7 separate regions of the Homo sapiens genome follow, and all the other regions are linked to region 4. Evidence: promoter capture Hi-C in human tissues and cell types (Jung and others, 2019). All regions are on one chromosome and are shown on one strand. Each heading gives the region's core, a stretch centred on a gene start or on the middle of the fragment in contact. The rest is flanking DNA. Distances are from core to core; before and after follow the strand shown.

Evidence for each region. The method cuts DNA at HindIII sites, captures the fragments that hold promoters and counts their contacts. A contact is called where the count stands out against the background at its distance.
Region 1: a fragment that was not itself captured here is called in contact with the fragment with the promoter of ERI1 in region 4 in 1 of the 25 tissues and cell types used here (heart left ventricle).
Region 2: a contact is called between a fragment that was not itself captured here and the fragment with the promoter of ERI1 in region 4, in 2 of the 25 tissues and cell types used here (bladder and small bowel).
Region 3: a fragment that was not itself captured here is called in contact with the fragment with the promoter of ERI1 in region 4 in 1 of the 25 tissues and cell types used here (aorta).
Region 5: a contact is called between a fragment that was not itself captured here and the fragment with the promoter of ERI1 in region 4, in 1 of the 25 tissues and cell types used here (mesenchymal stem cells).
Region 6: a fragment that was not itself captured here is called in contact with the fragment with the promoter of ERI1 in region 4 in 1 of the 25 tissues and cell types used here (dorsolateral prefrontal cortex).
Region 7: a fragment that was not itself captured here is called in contact with the fragment with the promoter of ERI1 in region 4 in 1 of the 25 tissues and cell types used here (lymphoblastoid cells).

Annotation. Positions count from the first base shown.
Region 1 is chr8:9,614,464-9,617,163 of GRCh38, reverse strand. TNKS (tankyrase) reads right to left here. Exons shown (of 27, transcript NM_003747.3): 3 at 1,487-1,582. Among named protein-coding and RNA genes, the nearest start is that of TNKS, 60 kb to the right of the region's middle. The HindIII fragment of the contact is 4,214 bases long and covers 1-2,700 here.
Region 2 is chr8:9,588,787-9,591,486 of GRCh38, reverse strand. All of the region lies in intron 2 of TNKS (tankyrase), which reads right to left. Among named protein-coding and RNA genes, the nearest start is that of TNKS, 34 kb to the right of the region's middle. The HindIII fragment of the contact is 6,330 bases long and covers 1-2,700 here.
Region 3 is chr8:9,633,633-9,636,332 of GRCh38, reverse strand. The region is part of intron 3 of TNKS (tankyrase); the gene reads right to left. Among named protein-coding and RNA genes, the nearest start is that of TNKS, 79 kb to the right of the region's middle. The HindIII fragment of the contact is 5,989 bases long and covers 1-2,700 here.
Region 4 is chr8:9,001,570-9,004,269 of GRCh38, reverse strand. It overlaps ERI1 (exoribonuclease 1), which reads right to left and starts at 1,373. Exons shown (of 7, transcript NM_153332.4): 1 at 1,099-1,373. The coding sequence starts at 1,206. It overlaps LOC105379227 (a long non-coding RNA gene), which reads left to right and starts at 1,528. Exons shown (of 3, transcript XR_002956680.2): 1 at 1,528-1,609. The HindIII fragment of the contact is 7,447 bases long and covers 1-2,700 here.
Region 5 is chr8:9,720,980-9,723,679 of GRCh38, reverse strand. The region is part of intron 12 of TNKS (tankyrase); the gene reads right to left. Among named protein-coding and RNA genes, the nearest start is that of MIR597, 19 kb to the left of the region's middle. The HindIII fragment of the contact is 4,617 bases long and covers 1-2,700 here.
Region 6 is chr8:9,683,600-9,686,299 of GRCh38, reverse strand. All of the region lies in intron 5 of TNKS (tankyrase), which reads right to left. Among named protein-coding and RNA genes, the nearest start is that of MIR597, 57 kb to the left of the region's middle. The HindIII fragment of the contact is 5,513 bases long and covers 1-2,700 here.
Region 7 is chr8:8,474,586-8,477,285 of GRCh38, reverse strand. No RefSeq gene overlaps it. Among named protein-coding and RNA genes, the nearest start is that of LINC02950, 15 kb to the right of the region's middle. The HindIII fragment of the contact is 4,712 bases long and covers 1-2,700 here.

The DNA of each region.
Region 1 (2,700 bases), core at 115-2,614, 610 kb before region 4:
TCTTGTTAATAACTTATATTAAATTTTGCCTTTTAAAAAAGTGAAAGTAGATCTAAAAGCGTTGTTGCATTAAATGTATCTAACAAATGGACAAAGCGGGTGTTGAGAGTTGGAGAGAAGGAAACGTCAGAGGGAGGACATTTAGATATACAAAGAGTCTTGCTCAGCATTTATAACCTACCCCTGTTACTATGCACTGTATTTCTCCTTTGGTCAGAGACCACTCTAAAGCTGCTATTGTTGCCCAGGGCTTTGTTAAGAGACTGAAAGGCTGTAGAATCTGAGCAGGCCCGAGGCTATGTATTTTAATTTCACTACTTAAAATTATATATTTATACTTAAATTTCTTATCTACACTAATTTAAGTAGGTTTATTACTCTAGTGTATGTTACTGTTATCCAGCAACTAAATACACTAATCTTTGATTGAGAAAAGTCATATTACTCTGAGCAATAATTATATTGATTTTAGCACAGTGCAAAGTTGTTTTTCTATGCAGAGTAATTAAGCAAAATTCCATAGATTTTCAAAGCTTTCTGTACATAAACGTTTTCCCTTCGCCTCAGTATTTTTGCTAAATTTTCACACCATGGACTCTAAACTTAAACAAGAACAAAATATTTATTTTCTTCGACCATGGGCAAATTTAAAAGGTAGTTAAAAGTCATTTACTTTCACATAACCTAAAACAATACTGTTAGCACTGCAGTGACAGAGGCTCATTACGAAGGTCAGTTAAGTAAAAGAGGGCAAAGGCAGCAGGACTCAGATGCTAAGAATAAAAACAAAAATAGATCCAATGCAGCATTTTGAGAATGCAGATCAATGAAAACACTTAGAGCACTATTTTCTATATTGTTATGAGAGACCTTTTCCATTCTAGCATTTCCTCTTTGCTGGTTCTTGGCATTTGCTTTAATAAAACTAATATTTAAGCCACAAATTTGCATTATCTGAAGTAAAAAGATAATAAACGCCTCAGTTAAAAATAACTTAGCTATCATGGTAAAAGTGAAAACATATGATTAAAGTATAAACGGGGTGGCAAGGGAGAGGCAGCGGCATATTTTATTTGACTATCGATCCAAGAAATAAGGCAGCAGGCAGCAGGTTGTCTTTCCAATCAAAACTACTTTTATAGTAATATAAATGCCCTTGCTTGCTCAACAGTAAAGGTCTTAAACAACTGAGAGGATGAGATACAGAAAAATTATGATATAAACCATAAAAATGACTAAAATACGAGTGAAAGATGTTATGATTTAATGCTATCATTCTAAGTAGACCAACAATCTTACTGCTTATGCTTACGACAGCATAGCAATTAATGAGACAGATATCAAATCAATAATAAAGTAGTAGATAATGGCAGATATATTTGCTTAGCTTCATCAGTGAAAAGAAAAATTCAGCATAACAAGATTTTATAAAATCAAGTAAGGAGTTACACAGATATAATCATTCGGTAGCTCTCTGTCTTCTTACCTGTAAGGACAGCTTTTGCTGAAGGATCTGCCAGGTCCAGGGCTGATTTCCCATCAGTGTTCCGAATGTTTGGGTCAGCTCCGTGCTGCAGCAGCACTGTGCAGGGAAAGCAGAAACAGTATCTTACCTCGGGGATACAGAGATTATTTACTGGTAAGTGTCGTCTCGGCATGGTGTAGGCATAAACATACATTGCACAAATTTTTTCTCTTTCAAGAAAAAAAAAGAAAAAAAGCAAAAAAGCACTGCAGCAAAGGAGCCTCTCTAGAGTGAAATGAAGTTGGCAACTTATGGTACAATATTATCACATGACTTAACATCATAAACATGAAACTAGAAAAATCTTGCAATGTAGAGTTTTGGTTTGCCTCCTTCAAGCAGCAGTATGGGAAGCTATGTGCTCGCTGGCTCACACTGTGAAATATGCTAACTGTGAACCTGCCCTCTCTTTACTACCACTGTGGCTGCTTGTTGCTGTCGCTGCTTTACTGCTGAATTTCCAAATGCCTCCTCTCCTCAGAATAGTTATAATACTGTGCAAGCCTTTTAGTGGCTCACCACTTGCACATGAAACTCACCATAACATACTGGATGGCTTCCAAGAAGTTTAACAGACATAGTAATGTGTGTAACCCTGGTCCCCTGGCGTGGAGCTGCAAAAAGGAACTGCCTCTTATACTCATTCTTTCCATCAAAAATGTTTAGAAACAGAAACTCAATCACTATAATATATCCTAAGGCACGAATGTAATGCCTGCCATATTGGGTAAAAAGTAGCTACTGGGAATTCTTAAATATGGAGGTTCCTACAAAAGAAAAAATCACTGTTTAAGTAAAATCCAGATATATTAATCCAAAGCATTTATCAGCCACATCTGGTATGTGGTGTGTATACGTAGGGAGGGTGGAGAGGGCAGGAGAGGAGGAGACTGTTGCTGTAATACTACCCAAACAATGATTAAATCAATGAATGTATTAAAAAGTTGTTCCAGTAAGTAAAATTCAATTGTAAGTTATGAGGCACTACCGTTGATGAGTCCCAAATTTTCATTCATTCATGACAGTTCCATGCTAAAGCACATACATTCTTTAGCAATATTTGGAAGGTAATACTCACACATTACCAAGCCGTAAGTCCTTCTGTTTACAAAGCTCTTCCTTTTCCTTTAATGTATTAGCCATAAAATCAATGGCTTTGTTATAATGGACAAACA
Region 2 (2,700 bases), core at 2-2,501, 590 kb before region 4:
CAGTCCAATGTGCACTTAGCATTCCACCCAGCAATCCCACTCTCAGGGATCCATCCAAGAGAAGTGAAAAAACATGTCCACGCTGAGACATACATCCAGCGTTATAACAGCTACAAACTGCAAACAAGCTAAACAACCACCAACTGTGCTACATCCATACAATGAAACACCATACAACAACAAAAAAACTAACGATATGCACACACAATATAAACTCACAAACATTTAGCCAAATGGACCTAGGGAAAAAATAAAAGACAACTCTATTAACTAGAATCATACACGAAAGGGAGTAAATTATTACTAAGCTTACAGAAATAAAAGATTATAAAGGAATATTATGAACAACTAAATGAGAAAACTGGATAGCCACATGCAAAGGCATGACGTTGGACCCTTCACCTCACATCATCTCCAAACATCAATTCCAAATGCATCAGACCTAAATACATTTCAGTTACAACTCCTAGATGACAACAGAGTTAAATCATGATCTAGGGTTCGACAATGGATTCTCAGATAAGATACCAAAGCACAAGCAACGAAAGCAGAAACAGACTTTTTAATGTTAACCATTAATCAAATCACCAAAATGTAAAACTTCTGTGCTTCAAAGGACAATATCACGAAAATGAAAAGACAACACAAAGAATGGGAGAAAGTATTTGCAAATCATTTTTCTAGTAAGAAACTTTTATCTATCATAACTCAATAATGAAAAGACAGCCAATTTAATAACGGACAAAGATAGGAATAGACATTTCCCCAAAGAATACATACAAATGGCAAACACGCACATGAAAAGATGCTCAACATCATTACTTATCAGGCAAATGCAATTAAAACCACACTGAGGTTCTGGCACAGAGTAGGCATTTTACTCGGAGCAAGCACAGAGCTTTATTATGCCAGGGATGTGGTGCAAAGTAAGGCAGAGTAGGTTCCTGTGTTTATATTAAGGCACAAAGTTGGGAAGAGTACACAGATGGCAAACAAACAAGTAAATGTATGATTAAATAAGGATATAATTCCAGGTAATAAGTGCTATGGTGTAAAATAAAACATGATAAAAGAGTAATCAAACAAACAGGGCAGGGCAAGAAATTATGACAGCTTTGTCAGGGCACAACTCAGATGAATTAACATTATTAGTGAAAAATCTGGGGAAAGAGTACCGCAGGCAGAACAAGTTTGGTGCATTAGAGAGACAAAAAGGCCATTGTAGCTGGAAGGTGGAGAGAAAGGGAGGGAATTACAGGGACATGAGGATGAAGTCCATGATGTAGACGGGAGCCAGACCAAGGAGGGCCCTGAAGATGAGTCCGGGTGTTACTTAAGTACACCTGGAATTATGTGGAGCATTTTTAAACACGCACATACTGTGATCTAATCATGGGCAGCTTCGCGAACACACAAGCTGTGCAGTTGCACAGGGCCCCAATGCTCTGCTGTCACCACCTGAAATTCTTAGCAATCTTATCTCTTAGCTTGTATTTTGTACGTAACATTCAACGGGACAATGAATGGAGCATGCACATGAACAGAGGAGACGTGTTGGGTGGCAGTATATGCATATAGAATTAATTCAGAAGAGTTTGTGGACAGCTATAGAAACATATTATCAGAAGACTTCTTTCACAAAGAGTATTAAGATCTTCGTTGAAGGCATGAGATGGTTCAAAGAATATTAACAGTAATCAATTTTCGAAGGGATCCAAAATCAAAATCAAGCTCATTTTTACTTTCTTCTCTTCCTCACCCACGTGGCTCCCAGCCCCGCTATATCAATTTACTCTCAGTTGTAGATTCCTATGTATAGTGGTGAGGCCCGAGGGGCCAAGTCCACACTAGGAAACGTCTCTGAGACTAAAGCTAACTGATTAAGGGTCAACATCTAACTCAAAGTGGGGCATCAGATTCTTTGCATCTCAGGTTTAGCAACAAGAGTGGACTTGAAGCCAAGACCTCACAGCAACTTTAAGGGAGGATTCTAATGAGAAGGCTGACATACCTCTGCTGCTAAAGTTCTTGGAGCTGGCTTGGTTGTTTACTTCAAAATTCTTGGTTTTCCTGACTGGTGTGTTTCTGTCTCCAACTTTACATGCAGTTATTTACTATAACTTCAAATATTTATCTGATGCTTTACAAGAGACCTCTAGTTTATAAACAATACCTTTCATTAGCTAACTCCACTACTAGGTTCTAGAACCTCCTAGTCAAGCTGATCCTGCTGCTACCCTTGGCCCAGAATGTATGTCCTGCTTCTAGTATCCTACTTTCTGATTACATTTATTCAAGTGAAAGTAGATTATTGTTTCATTAATACAGGTTTCAAGGCTTCTCACTGAGCAAAATCTCTAGCTATAGATTTTTTCTCATGTCAATAGGTTCAGTGGGAGCAGGGAAATAATCCCGTTTTCAGTCACAAACACTAATGAGGACAAATTCCCATACCAATCGAGTTTGTCATATATTCAATTATCTATGACAATAATATCCATGATGTGCTGAATGCTGTCATCTTTCCCCACTCCGATTAACCCATTAACCTATCCCTCTCAACTTGGATAAGCTTCTTCTTCCTAGTCTAATTTGAAATAAGGCTATGGGGTTTCAATATCACTTTTCCTTTGTTTTCCTGGTCACTAAAAGAACCATAGGCCAAGCAGCTCATTAGAGATGGAACAGTCTGAAAGCACT
Region 3 (2,700 bases), core at 64-2,563, 630 kb before region 4:
ATCAATCAGTTTTCCTTTTTCTTTCTTATGCCCAGCATGATCACTTTGAATAACATTTTACTTGAAATAACTTCAAACAGAAAATTTGCAAAATTAGTACAAGGGGCTCCTCCATATCCTCCATCTCACCTACTTATAATCATCTGCCCATGTGCTTTATATCCTCTCGCTTATGTTTATGCACATAGGTATATGTAACAACCAATTTTTTATCCATTTGAGAAGGCTGCAATACATCGATACATTATTTCTCCTTGCGTTTAGTACTTCAGTGCCTATTTTTTAAAAACAATACTTTTTTCATGTAACCACAGTACAGTAATTAAATTCAAGTAACACTGGTACAATACTTTTCATCTAATATACAGTATGTGCTCCAATTTTGTCAGTCATTCCTATTATAGCCTTTATAGCATTTTTCTCCTCTAGTCCAGGATCATATATTTTGCATTTAGTTGTCATGTCTCTTTAGTTTCCTTTGATTTGGAGTAATTCCTCAGCCTTTGTCTTTCAAGACACTGACATTTTTTAAAAATACAGGCTATTTCGTAGAATGAACCTAAATTGGAATTTGTTTAATGTTTTCTCATGAGATTTAGTCATGCCTCCCTAGCCAGAATACAACATAAGAAATGTTGTGACCTTCTCAGGTATTACATCTGCCAGCACACAGGCTTAATTCATTCTCATTAGTGATGTTAATTTTGATATCCAAAAAAAGTATTGTCAGATTTTGTCAATGTATAGTTTCTCCCAAGTAATTATCAATCTATGAGCAATCATGCTGAGAATCATATAATTATACAGCTGCTCATCAAACTTTGCCCCTGAGATTTGGCATCCACTAACGATTGTTGTCCTAACCAGTCTTTACTATCATGGTTGCAAATGGTGATTTTCCAATTCCAACAGTCCCTCCACATTGATTAGTAGGCATTCTACAGTAAGAAAGTGTCCCTCCCCATTCGTTCATGTATTACCACTGAAGAATTCCTATTTCATACAATGGGCTATACAATCCATCACTATTATGATACACTTTGATAGTCAAACTATCCCGGATATGTTCATTGGGAGCCCCTTCAGGATGGTTCCTATGTTCTTTTCATGTGTCTCCATTATTTCTTTGAGCAGTTCATTACTTTTTTTTTTTTTTTTTCCCCGAGACGGAGTCTCGCTCTGTCGTCCAGGCTGGAGTGCAGTGGCGCGGTCTCGGCTCACTGCAAGCTCCGCCTCCCGGGTTTACGCCAGTCTCCGGCCTCAGCCTCCCGAGTGGCCGCGCCTACAGGCGCCTGCCACCGCGCCCGGCTAATATTTTTTTTTGTATTTTTAGTAGAGACGGGGTTTCACCGTGGTCTCGATCTCCTGACCTCGTGATCCACCAGCCTCAGCCTCCCAAAGTGCCGGGATTACAGGAGTGAGCCACCGCGCCCGGCCGAGCAGTTCATTACTTTCTAGCACAGAAGATGTTCCAGGCTCCTTTTACACCTTCCCCGACCTAGCTTTGAAATCAGTCATTTTTTTTTCAAAGTTTTGGTGTCTTTTAATAAACGGCATGTAGAAACCAAGCTCTTGGAAGCAGGTGTGCTCCACTGCTATTGGGGTCTCACTGCTTCTAGGTCTTTTCTGTAGCAGAAATAGAGGTTTGTTTCCCGCAGTGATTCTGATGCCTACAACTTCAATCCAAATCCACAAGTTTCTCCTCTGTCTTCCCCCTTCCACATTTGTATCTTCTTCTTCTACAGTAAGAGCCCTTGCTCCCAACACATTTACTTATTTGCTTAATCCTACAACATACATAAAATAGTTGCAGAATTACTACACCACACACTGCAAAAAACAAAGAACAACAAACTTAATAAGAAGTCAAAGTTGGTTTGAAATTCCCTTTTCTTTCCTCCTACACCAAGAATATGAAGTCAAAGAATTACGTTCAAAAGTTACTTAGATTAGTTCTTTACTTTCTTCAGTGTGGTTGTTTGAAATATAGGTGGCTCATTTATTTCTGCTTACATTCAAATTTTAGGTGTTTTTCCCCCATCTTCAATTTAATTTTATTTTTTAATATGTAGCACATTAACATGCCTCCAGAAATTAAAATTATACCAAAATGGCATGGTCTACTTAATGTCTTATCTACCCTCTGTTCTCACGTTCTTATAGGTAATCAATTTCAATGTTTTCTGGTTTATCCTTCTTGTGCTTATTTTTGGAAAAAAAATATATATACATATATATATATATATATATATGCAGTTAAATGAGTTTTTTTTCCTTAATTCCTATAGTGTATTAGTAATCTATTTCTGCCTAGCAAATTACATCTGGAAATGACAACTTAAAAGAATGAATGTTATTTCACATAGTTTCTGAGGGTCAGGAATCTGGGAATGGTTAGCTGGATGATTCTGACTCAGCATTTCCAACAAGGTTGCTGCCAAGCTATACATGGGGACTATCATATCTCATCTCAAGGCTTAAATGCGGCTGGAAAATCTGCTTCCAAGAATCTTCATGTGGTTATTGACAAGCCTCAGTTTCTCACTGGCTACTGGCCAGAGACTTCAGTACCTCCCCAAATGGGCTTGTCTATAAGGCAGTTTACAATATGGCAGTTTGCTGCTTCCGGAGCAAGTGATCCAAGTGAATGAGAAAAACAGCCCAACATAAAAGCCATAGTTTTTATGACCATCTTGAAAA
Region 4 (2,700 bases), core at 124-2,623:
CTGAAGAGGGAGGCAGGTGGAAGAGTGGTTCTTTACAAGAGAAGGGATGTGCAAGTACTCTTTGAAATAACAACCTTAGAAGGAGAAAGATAATTGCAAGGATCCAAAGGAAGTGCACACAGGGCAAAAGGAACATACAGAGATCCTTAACGAGACCTTCTTTCCAATGTCAAAGAACACAAGGCAGCGAGGGGCACTGGGAACAAAAGGGAAAAAACTGTGTGAGATGCAATTACCAAGGGAGGCAGGCACCCGACCCCGCAGAGCAGCAAATGGAAGTGACTCAGGAGGGGAATAAGCCAAATTCATGTTATTGAAAAGCTCATTCTAGCTGCCAGATGGAAACTGACTGTGGACGGAAGGAGCAAGAGTTAGGAGGCCTCTTGCAAATACGCACTTTATGAAGCTTTACGAAGTGTTCAACATGTTTATTATTAGGAAAAGATCAATTTTAGTATTCAATCACTTACAATCCGCAGCGCTAGTCAACAATTAACATTCGTTAAATAAGTTTTAAGACTGTTCTACAACTTTGCCACTGTAACTAAGTTCAACCGATGAGATGTCAAAATGATTCATTCAATCTTATACTATGGTTATATGAGACACCAGTTAATGAGCAAAAGCAGCTAAGACGAAGCTCCACTTAACAGGTACAGAGACAGGGATGCTGGTGAGTGCTTTTTAAATTTTTTCTTTTTTTAAAAACAGGCATGAAGTGACATACCTAGCGTATATGGTGAGATTTTAAAAACATAAAGCCTTGCAAACTACCCATAACGGCTACATGGAGTGACAACAGCAACCGTGAACACAGAATTAAGTTTAAAGCAAAACTCCCTCTTAGAACCTGTTAACCCACTGTAGACAGAACTGGTCTTGACGATTTCCTCCCTCCCAGAGAGTGATTCGGCCCTGAGGGGGCTCCAAGACACCCACCCGAGGATAAAGCCAGGGAGCTGGGCACCGAGGAAGAGGCTGGGGTCCAAGGGCGCACAGCTGCACCTTCTGCGGGACACCTGAGAAGAAAGGGGTGCCGAGGGCGCTTTGGGGACGGGGCAGCTGGCGCCAACAGCCAGGCGCGGGTCGACTCCTCACCTCGGGACTGGGACGCGGCGGCTCCTCCCCGCCCTCCGGCCGCGGCGACTCCAGCAGCGCGAGAGCCACGGCCTCGCCGGCAGGCTCTTTACTCTGTGGATCCTCCATGCCGGCTGTCACGCCAGAGGAGAGTTGCTGGAGCCGGACACTTGCTAACTCTCACTCTGCAGAGCCCGAAAGCCTCGCCTTTCTCCGTTGAAAAATTACCGGGCTCGCGTTCCCGCGGCGGCGGCCACACAAACTCCAGCGGCCACCTCCCACTTCCGGGAGCGTGTGGCGTCCACACGCCGGGCAGGCGCAGTGAGCCGGCGTGCGCGGAACGCCAGCGCCGCAGTCCACAGGGGGAGGGAGGACGAACAAGAGGGAGGCGCGCCGGTGAGAAGACGGGGCGTGGCCGGCCGTAGGCGGAGCTAGCGCGGGTTGAAGTTGCGCAAGGATCTAGTCCAGTCACTGGAGGGTAGCACCGGCACGTGTGTTCCCGTCAGTGTTTCCTGAGAAGGAAAAAAGTAGGGTGAGTGGGAAGATATCATAGAGAAAGATGTTTTCGACCATAAAAAATAATAAAACAATTCACATTTTCCATAAGGAGTTTCCTAAAACTTCCACTCTGGGCAAGAAAAGAAAATGGGTCGGGACTTAGTGTCCCACTATAAACAATTAGAAAACGGAACAAAATATAGGAGACACCTATTCAGACATTGGACAACGGACAGCTGTGGACTGTTTTACCTGAGAGAAAAGAAATAAAAGGAGCCGTATATCATCCTGCCCTTTTGCCCAGAGGCGATTTCCAGTCTGTGGTGCGATGAAAGGAAATCATATGGAAACCTAGGATCTCCTGGGTTGAAAAGACAGAGATTGGAGTTGACGAAATTGGGGTAGGCCAAGTCGGTTGGAATTTGTAGGGCAGAATTCTGGAGAGGAGGGAATTACATGGAAAAAGAGCTTCAGAAATCTGCTTAGGAGTACCTTGAATCTTTAACTGAATAAAAAACGTGAAACTCCACAAGGCCAGGAAAGAACAATTACTGGGGAGCAGTACACCAAACAATGGTGAGAGGTCACACAGAACTGGGAATCATTTGAGCTCCCAGCAACCAGAGTGAAGAGATTATTGAATACCATGGAACACGCAATAGAAACCTCAGATGTGAAACTGCCATTGCAAAATTATCATTGAGACAGTGAAAGAGATCAGACCTAACCAACTCCATCTTGCTTTTAACCTCCAGGCTATCCTTATTCATTCCTAGGCGTAGGCCAAACTAACACTGGGAGGAACTTAGTGTATAGCTTATAGTTTAAAACAAAGGTGATAGCCCTTTCTCAAAATAAACCCTCTTCTTGAGACTAGACTGCTTTTGTAGGACTAGTAAATTAGCCGAAAGATTAGAAATTATGATTTAGGACTCATGCAGCTGAAGGCTACAAGATTCTAACCCTCTCCAAATTGCTCCTGGGGATAATATCACTATTGTAAAATCTAAGATCAGTGCTTGAGATATTTTGCAGGCCCTGCACTTGATGGATCAGCTGGCACCTCCCAGATTGATAAACTGACTCACCTGATCTTGGATAAACTAGCTCATCTGATTTTGTGTC
Region 5 (2,700 bases), core at 74-2,573, 720 kb before region 4:
TTAGTTTAAATGTAGCCAGATGTAGCTAGTGGCTACCATATTGGAAAGAGCAAGTCTAGAGAAAGAAATCAAATCTTTGGAAATAATGTTTTAAAGTGCTAATTCATAAAAAGCTGCTTCTCTTGTTTTCTTTACATTGATGTTAGTTTTGACACAAATATTGCCAGCAGTTTATAATGAAAACTTTATTAATGTAAACTTCTGGCAACTACAGACTTGAGAGTTGAAAGTGCAGGTTTCTAAAGTAGATCTCAAACCCGTATTAACAAGTGTATTTAAATGAATCTTATAAAATGTTATCCAGAACAAAACAAATTACTATACATCTTATTTGACTGATATTAATATATTCTTTCAAAAGTCATTATAGATATAACCTGATATTGGGTTAATAAATAACTAAAAAGTTCAGCTAATGCATGGTCCATAGTCTACAGAGACATACAAATTCCTGGTAAAAATAGTAGTTTAAAAACTCATATCCTATTTCAAATAAGAAACAATTCCCATTACAAAAAAAAAAAACCTTTTGGAGGGCAAAATTTTCCTATATATATTTTTTATTTGTATTAGCTTTCCAGATCAATAAAGAATTAAACTAAAAAGTTCTGCATGTTCTAAATTAAGCATTTAATTACCTATATAATGTCTTATTTCAAAAATCAATTTTAAAGGAGATTTATCAAAATAATCGAAGAAAAATATTTCATTTGTATTCAGTATTTAGTTTTATCTTTTGCCAGAACTCATATATTCTAACTGCATTCAGTAAGAAGACATTTTAAAAGTATTATATGGATCTGATATGCTTGATTTATTCAATACTTTCTTCTCCATTTTGTTAATTATCTCTAAAAGCTATGCACATAATTTGAGGCAAAGCTATGTGTTTGCCTGACTTATGGTTAAAACATACAGAAACTAACTTAAAATTCGGTACTAAATGATTCTCAGTAAAATGAGAAAATTTAGAAATTTTAACAAAAATCACAACTTTTAGAAATCATTAGAATTTACTGAGAGGGAAGAAATATTTCCTAGGCAAGGAGTAATATCTCCTTTAAGCAAATGTTCTATCACTCCATAAAAACAGGAAGTCAAAGTCTTTTTTTTTTTTTTTTTTTTGAGTTCAAGCTTGAAATTTATATAGAAAATTTCATTTGTTCAGCTGGATCTTACTCATGTTGATAGTGAAGACATGCTAGATAGATTTCCTTCTAAATCTTCCCGTCTCAAGATCACCATTAAGGCTGAAGTAGAATGATCACTATCTACGAATGACCTAGCATGAGGAAAATAAATCCTCATCAATAGTTTTCACAATGTTGCACAATTAGTTTTATTATGCTATTTAGCTCTGATCTTCCTATAACAATATACACATATCATAATCTCTACAAGCCCTAGAAGGGTCCCTGTTGCATCATATAGCAGTGATTCTCAACTTGGCTGTATTTCTTGGGGTCCCTTTAGAAATCTGTGGGGTCATGTTTTGTCTTCTAATATAGTTGTGTCCAATCTATTTACATAAGAACTATAAATTATTTTATTGTAACTTACTGCTATTTTCCCTTTATATTATAGTTAGGGCATTTTTTTCTTTTCTTTTCTTTTTTTTTTGTTGAGATGGAGTCTCGCTCTGTCACCCAGGCTGGATGGAGTGCAGTGGCGCGATCTTGGCTCACTGCAACCTCCGTCTCCTAGGTTCCAGTGATTCTCCTGCCTCAGGCTCCCGAGTAGCTGGAATTACAGGCACGCACCACCACACCCGGCTAATTTTTTAACATTTAGTAGAGATGGGGGTTTCACCATGTTGGCCAAGGTGGTCTGGAACTCCTGACCTCGTGATCCGCCCACCTCGGCCTCCCAAAGTGCTGGGATTACAGGCGTCAGCCACCATGCCCGATCTAGTTAGGGCGTTTTATATAGATTTTTGGAAAGGTACCTATACAGTTAGGTCATATTATCTATGAATTTCACTTCTGAAATGTCATAAGGATATGTCATAAGACATTCTTTATAAAAAGCGGGCACTGTACCTGATAGAGTTAAGAACTACCAGACTGTAGGTAGAAAAAAGTAACCAGGACTTCTGACTCCTAGTCTATAGCCTTCTACATTTTACTCTTCTGGTTTGTCATTTCATTCCATAGCAGATATAATCCACAGACAAAATTAAAAGGTTAGGAAAGAGGTTAATTATACTAAACTTTTGATTCTAGTTCATTTTGTCAGTAGGTAGACTGCATTACTTCCTCTAGTTTTGGGACTTAGGAAGCCAGTATCTATTTTCTTATCAATTTATATTTAAAATATCTAACACTATACCAGGCAGACAATGAAACATTCAGCAAAATTTTATAATTTTATATATATATATAATTTATTTATTTATTTTTGAGACAGAGTTTCACTCTGTCTCCAGGCTGGAGTGCAGTGGCGTGATCTCGGCTCACTGCAACCTCCGCCTCCCGCGTTCAAGCAATTCTCCTTGCCTCAGCCTCCCAAGTAGCTGGGGCTACAAGGCATGCGCCACTCCGCCCAGCTAATTTTTGTATTTTTAATAGAGACAGGGTTTCACCATGTTGGCCAAGATGGTCTCGATCTCCTGTCCTCGTGATCTGCCTGCCTCGGCATCCCAAAGTATTGGGATTACAGGAGTGAGCCACTGTGCCCGGCCTATAATTATATTTAAGCCAG
Region 6 (2,700 bases), core at 63-2,562, 680 kb before region 4:
GAACTCAGGTGGGTCTGTTGGCTAGGGGCCTCAGTTCTTCATGTGGACCTCGTCACATGGCTGCTTGGGCTGCCTTATGACATGGCAGCTGGGTTCCAAGAAGAATTACAAAAAAAGAAACTAGCAGCTGCCAGGCCAACTCAGGGGCGTGTCCTGAATAGGACAGAGTATCACTTGCGCCTTATTTTATTCAAAGCAGTCCCAGGCTAAGCCCAGAGTCAGTGTGGCAGGGGGCTAGACAAGGGCATGAGTAATAAAAGGGACGGTTTATTGAGGCATCTCCAAATAACAACCTACCACATAAAGACTGTTAAAATCCTGGCCAAACACAGTATTTGGAAAAAAGTTATACTGAGAGACGGGGGTACTGATCAAGAATAATGAGAAACTCTACAACCCTAAAACTTAAATGTAGATACAAAGAATTACACTAATCCTCCATCTTTCTTGTTCTTCACTGGATGGGGTTTATGGAATTCCATATATGGCATTATTTTCAGCCAGATATTAATTTTTAATCAACACGTGTTTAAAAATGGGCATATATCTCAAGAATGTATTTCTGAATTTATAAGCTGCTAATTTAGACAAATTTATTTATTAAATGTGACACTGGGTGAAGAGAGGGGAAGGCCAAGCTCCAACTGAATTAATTAAATTATATGCTTTATAGATTACAAGACAATCTATAGGTTATTTTATCCAAAGGCAGCTGGGACAGAGCTTGGACAATAAGGACATTTAAGTGGAGAGAAGGGGAACACTGGAGTACTTAAAAGTATGTAAGTGTCCATTCTAGATACATTTGAAAGTTTCAGAAAAAATTATCAAAGGAGTAGGAATCTAATTTTCTAAAGGTTACTGTGTGCTACAAACTGTACTAGGTATACTGACCACATTATTTCACTTAATCCTCTCAAATGCCTTGTGGAAAGGGTATGGTTATTTCCATTTGAGAGTGAGTAAATTAAAAACTCTAGAGCCATAGACACACACTTGGAAAGCAGAATAGAACCCAATCCCTCTGACCTTACAGTCTATTTGCCCTATCACAGTTTTTCTATGGTGTCTTCAAGGTACAGCACTAAATTCACTAAATTCTACTTTATTTCTGATTGATTTCCTTTTGAAAGTAGTTTTCAAACACTTTACTTTTCTCTGTTTCCAGTCATCTTCATTATTAACTATTTGGAAGCAAATATTTACAGAAAGTTGACACTTAAAGAAATCCTTAAGTTTTCTGAATTAAAATCATGTTCCTCCAATTACCTGCTCATCTAAATTTGTGGTTTCTTACAGAAGGGTATACTAAATACTAAAGCGTTAAAACTAAAAGGGCCAGGAAAAAACACTGTCACCTTAAATCAGCACTTTATAACTGTATCACCGCAAAAGGAATACTGTATCATTTTAATGCATTAGCTTCAATGTCTTCCATAATGTCTTAATCATTCTACCAATGTTTGAGCTCCCCGTTAACCAGTACCATCAACCATATAGTTATCTCCCATGACACTAAGCACAGTGACCCACACATGGTAGGTATTAAGTGTTGGTGGAATGAATGAATGAAAGGAGCAGAGGGAAACCTGAAATACTCAAAATTACATTGGAGATGTTATTTTAAAAGCACCTATCAAATATTAGTTACTTTTAATTGGTGACATATACTAGTAGCAACAGTAGGCAGAGTAGATATATTCAAAGATACATATTATTTCTATTTGGAAATATGTGCAATAGTCCCTAACCCCTACCTATTGCCTATTAAGATGAGGAATGGATAATTTTGGACATTTATTTTGGAAGGGGATAAAGACACCTAGAAAAGGAGAATAACACAGAGAGGAACCACAAAGAACTCTCAAAAGAGTTGACTGTTGGACTAATTTTATTCAAATATTTATTTTCATTTATTATAAAAGGTATCCTTACGAAAATTAACACTGGAAAACAAGAGAATATTACCACCTTAAATTTAGATATCAAACAAGGCCAGAACATGTGGATAATAGCTAATAAAACATCTGATACTGATATAAAACACTGTAAAGGGAGATTAAAGATCAAAAAATCCAAGTTTGAAAATAAAGGAATAAAGAATTCTAGAAAGGCAACAACCTATTTTCAGGTTCTGGTTCACCTAATGGCAATAATGAATTGTGGACTGTTATGACTAATCATACTGGGCAGAAGGTAGAAGATGACTAAATAACATCTATGTCCCTATGTTTCTAAAAGTGGTCATCATTATAACACGTATATAATTGCATAAAAGTATCATTTTAGAGCAACAACAAAAGGTAGCATTTTAGAACAAAAAAAAATTCTGCTTTTAGGGAAAAAAAAAGCCAATAAAATTTCTAGTGTAGCCAGGAGCCAATTTTGATTTATGTGTAAAATAAAAGCATAGTAACAATATAAACTGTATAAAACCTTATTGATGTTTTATAATTTTCAGAATTCTAAAGGTTAGGAAAACAATTGTCTTTGGGAAACAAAATATTAACTTCTCACATATTACCTAATTAGATAATCATCAAGTCACAGTATAGAATTAAGAGTACTTAAAATTTACACTCTCATTGTATAATCCCACATATTACATTAAAAAAAAACCTAAAGTCTCAAACCCCCACATATCTCTAGGCAAATTCCCCACCTACTAACCACTGTATAAGAGACATTTCTTTTCCAAAA
Region 7 (2,700 bases), core at 111-2,610, 530 kb after region 4:
ATCACTTGAATCCGGGAGGCGGAGGTTGCAGTGAACCAAGATCGCACCATTGCACTCCAGCCTGGGCAACAAGAGCAAAACTCAGTCTAAAAAAAGAGAGAGAGAGAGAGAGAGAGAGAGAGAGATGGAGAAACGAGCATAGAGAGAGGAAGAGTGTGACCAAGTGGCCAAAGGCGGCCAGCATGATTCTGGAAGTGACCCTGCGCTCACTGCGCTCCTCAACCAACGAGCTCCATAGGTTTCAGGGGCCTCACTTGCAAACTCTAGGGTTCGGATTACAAAACCTCAAGTTCTAGTACACCTTTAAGTTTCTGTGTGTCAACAGTCAGGATGCCAGAACCGGGAGCCAGCTCAGCATCGGAGGTGTCAATCACATCTCTTTTTTTTTTTTTTTTTAATTTTTTTTTTATTATACTTTAAGTTTTAGGGTACATGTGCACATTGTGCAGGTTAGTTACATATGTATACATGTGCCATGCTGGTGCGCTGCACCCACCAACGTGTCATCTATCATTAGATGTATCTCCCACTGCTATCCCTCCCCACTCCCCCGACCCCACCACCGTCCCCAGAGTGTGATATTCCCCTTCCTGTGTCCTTGTGATCTCATTGTTCAATTCCCACCTATGAGTGAGAATATGCGGTGTTTGGTTTTTTGTTCTTGCGATAGTTTACTGAGAATGATGGTTTCCAATTTCATCCATGTCCCTACAAAGGACATGAACTCATCATTTTTTATGGCTGCATAGTATTCCATGGTGTATATGTGCCACATTTTCTTAATCCAGTCTATCATTGTTGGACATTTGGGTTGGTTCCAAGTCTTTGCTATTGTGAATAATGCCACAATAAACATACGTGTGCATGTGTCTTTATAGCAGCATGATTTATAGTCCTTTGGGTATATACCCAGTAATGGGATGGCTGGGTCAAATGGTATTTCTAGTTCTAGATCCCTGAGGAATCGCCACACTGACTTCCACAATGGTTGAACTAGTTTACAGTCCCACCAACAGTGTAAAAGTGTTCCTATTTCTCCACATCCTCTCCAGCACCTGTTGTTTCCTGACTTTTTAATGATTGCCATTCTAACTGGTGTGAGATGATATCTCATAGTGGTTTTGATTTGCATTTCTCTGATGGCCAGTGATGATGAGCATTTCTTCATGTGTTTTTTGGCTGCATAAATGTCTTCTTTTGAGAAGTGTCTGTTCATGTCCTTCGCCCACTTTTTGATGGGGTTGTTTGTTTTTTTCTTGTAAATTTGTTTGAGTTCATTGTAGATTCTGGATATTAGCCCTTTGTCAGATGAGTAGGTTGCGAAAATTTTCTCCCATGTTGTAGGTTGCCTGTTCACTCTGATGGTAGTTTCTTTTGCTGTGCAGAAGCTCTTTAGTTTAATTAGATCCCATTTGTCAATTTTGGCTTTTGTTGCCATTGCTTTTGGTGTTTTGGACATGAAGTCCTTGCCCACGCCTATGTCCTGAATGGTAATGCCTAGGTTTTCTTCTAGGGTTTTTATGGTTTTAGGTCTAACGTTTAAATCTTTAATCCATCTTGAATTGATTTTTGTATAAGGTGTAAGGAAGGGATCCAGTTTCAGCTTTCTACATATGGCTAGCCAGTTTTCCCAGCACCATTTATTAAATAGGGAATCCTTTCCCCATTGCTTGTTTTTCTCAAGTTTGTCAAAGATCAGATAGTTGTAGATATGCGGCATTATTTCTGAGGGCTCTGTTCTGTTCCATTGATCTATATCTCTGTTTTGGTACCAGTACCATGCTGTTTTGGTTACTGTAGCCTTGTAGTATAGTTTGAAGTCAGGTAGTGTGATGCCTCCAGCTTTGTTCTTTTGGCTTAGGATTGACTTGGCAATGCGGGCTCTTTTTTGGTTCCATATGAACTTTAAAGTAGTTTTTTCCAATTCTGTGAAGAAAGTCATTGGTAGCTTGATGGGGATGGCATTGAATCTGTAAATTACCTTGGGCAGTATGGCCATTTTCACGATATTGATTCTTCCTACCCATGAGCATGGAATGTTCTTCCATTTGTTTGTGTCCTCTTTTATTTCCTTGAGCAGTGGTTTGTAGTTCTCCTTGAAGAGGTCCTTCACATCCCTTGTAAGTTGGATTCCTAGGTATTTTATTCTCTTTGAAGCAATTGTGAATGGGAGTTCAGTCATGATTTGGCTCTCTGTTTGTCTGTTGTTGGTGTATAAGAATGCTTGTGATTTTTGTACATTGATTTTGTATCCTGAGACTTTGCTGAAGTTGCTTATCAGCTTAAGGAGATTTTGGGCTGAGACAATGGGGTTTTCTAGATATACAATCATGTCGTCTGCAAACAGGGACAATTTGACTTCCTCTTTTCCTAATTGAATACCCTTTATTTCCTTCTCCTGCCTGATTGCCCTGGCCAGAACTTCCAACACTATGTTGAATAGGAGTGGTGAGAGAGGGCATCCCTGTCTTGTGCCAGTTTTCAAAGGGAATGCTTCCAGTTTTTGCCCATTCAGTATGATATTGGCTGTGGGTTTGTCATAGATAGCTCTTATTATTTTGAAATACGTCCCATCAATACCTCATTTATTGAGAGTTTTTAGCATGAAGGGTTGTTGAATTTTGTCAAAGGCTTTTTCTGCATCTATTGAGATAATCATGTGGTTTTTGTCTTTGGCTCTGTTTATATGCTGGATTGCAT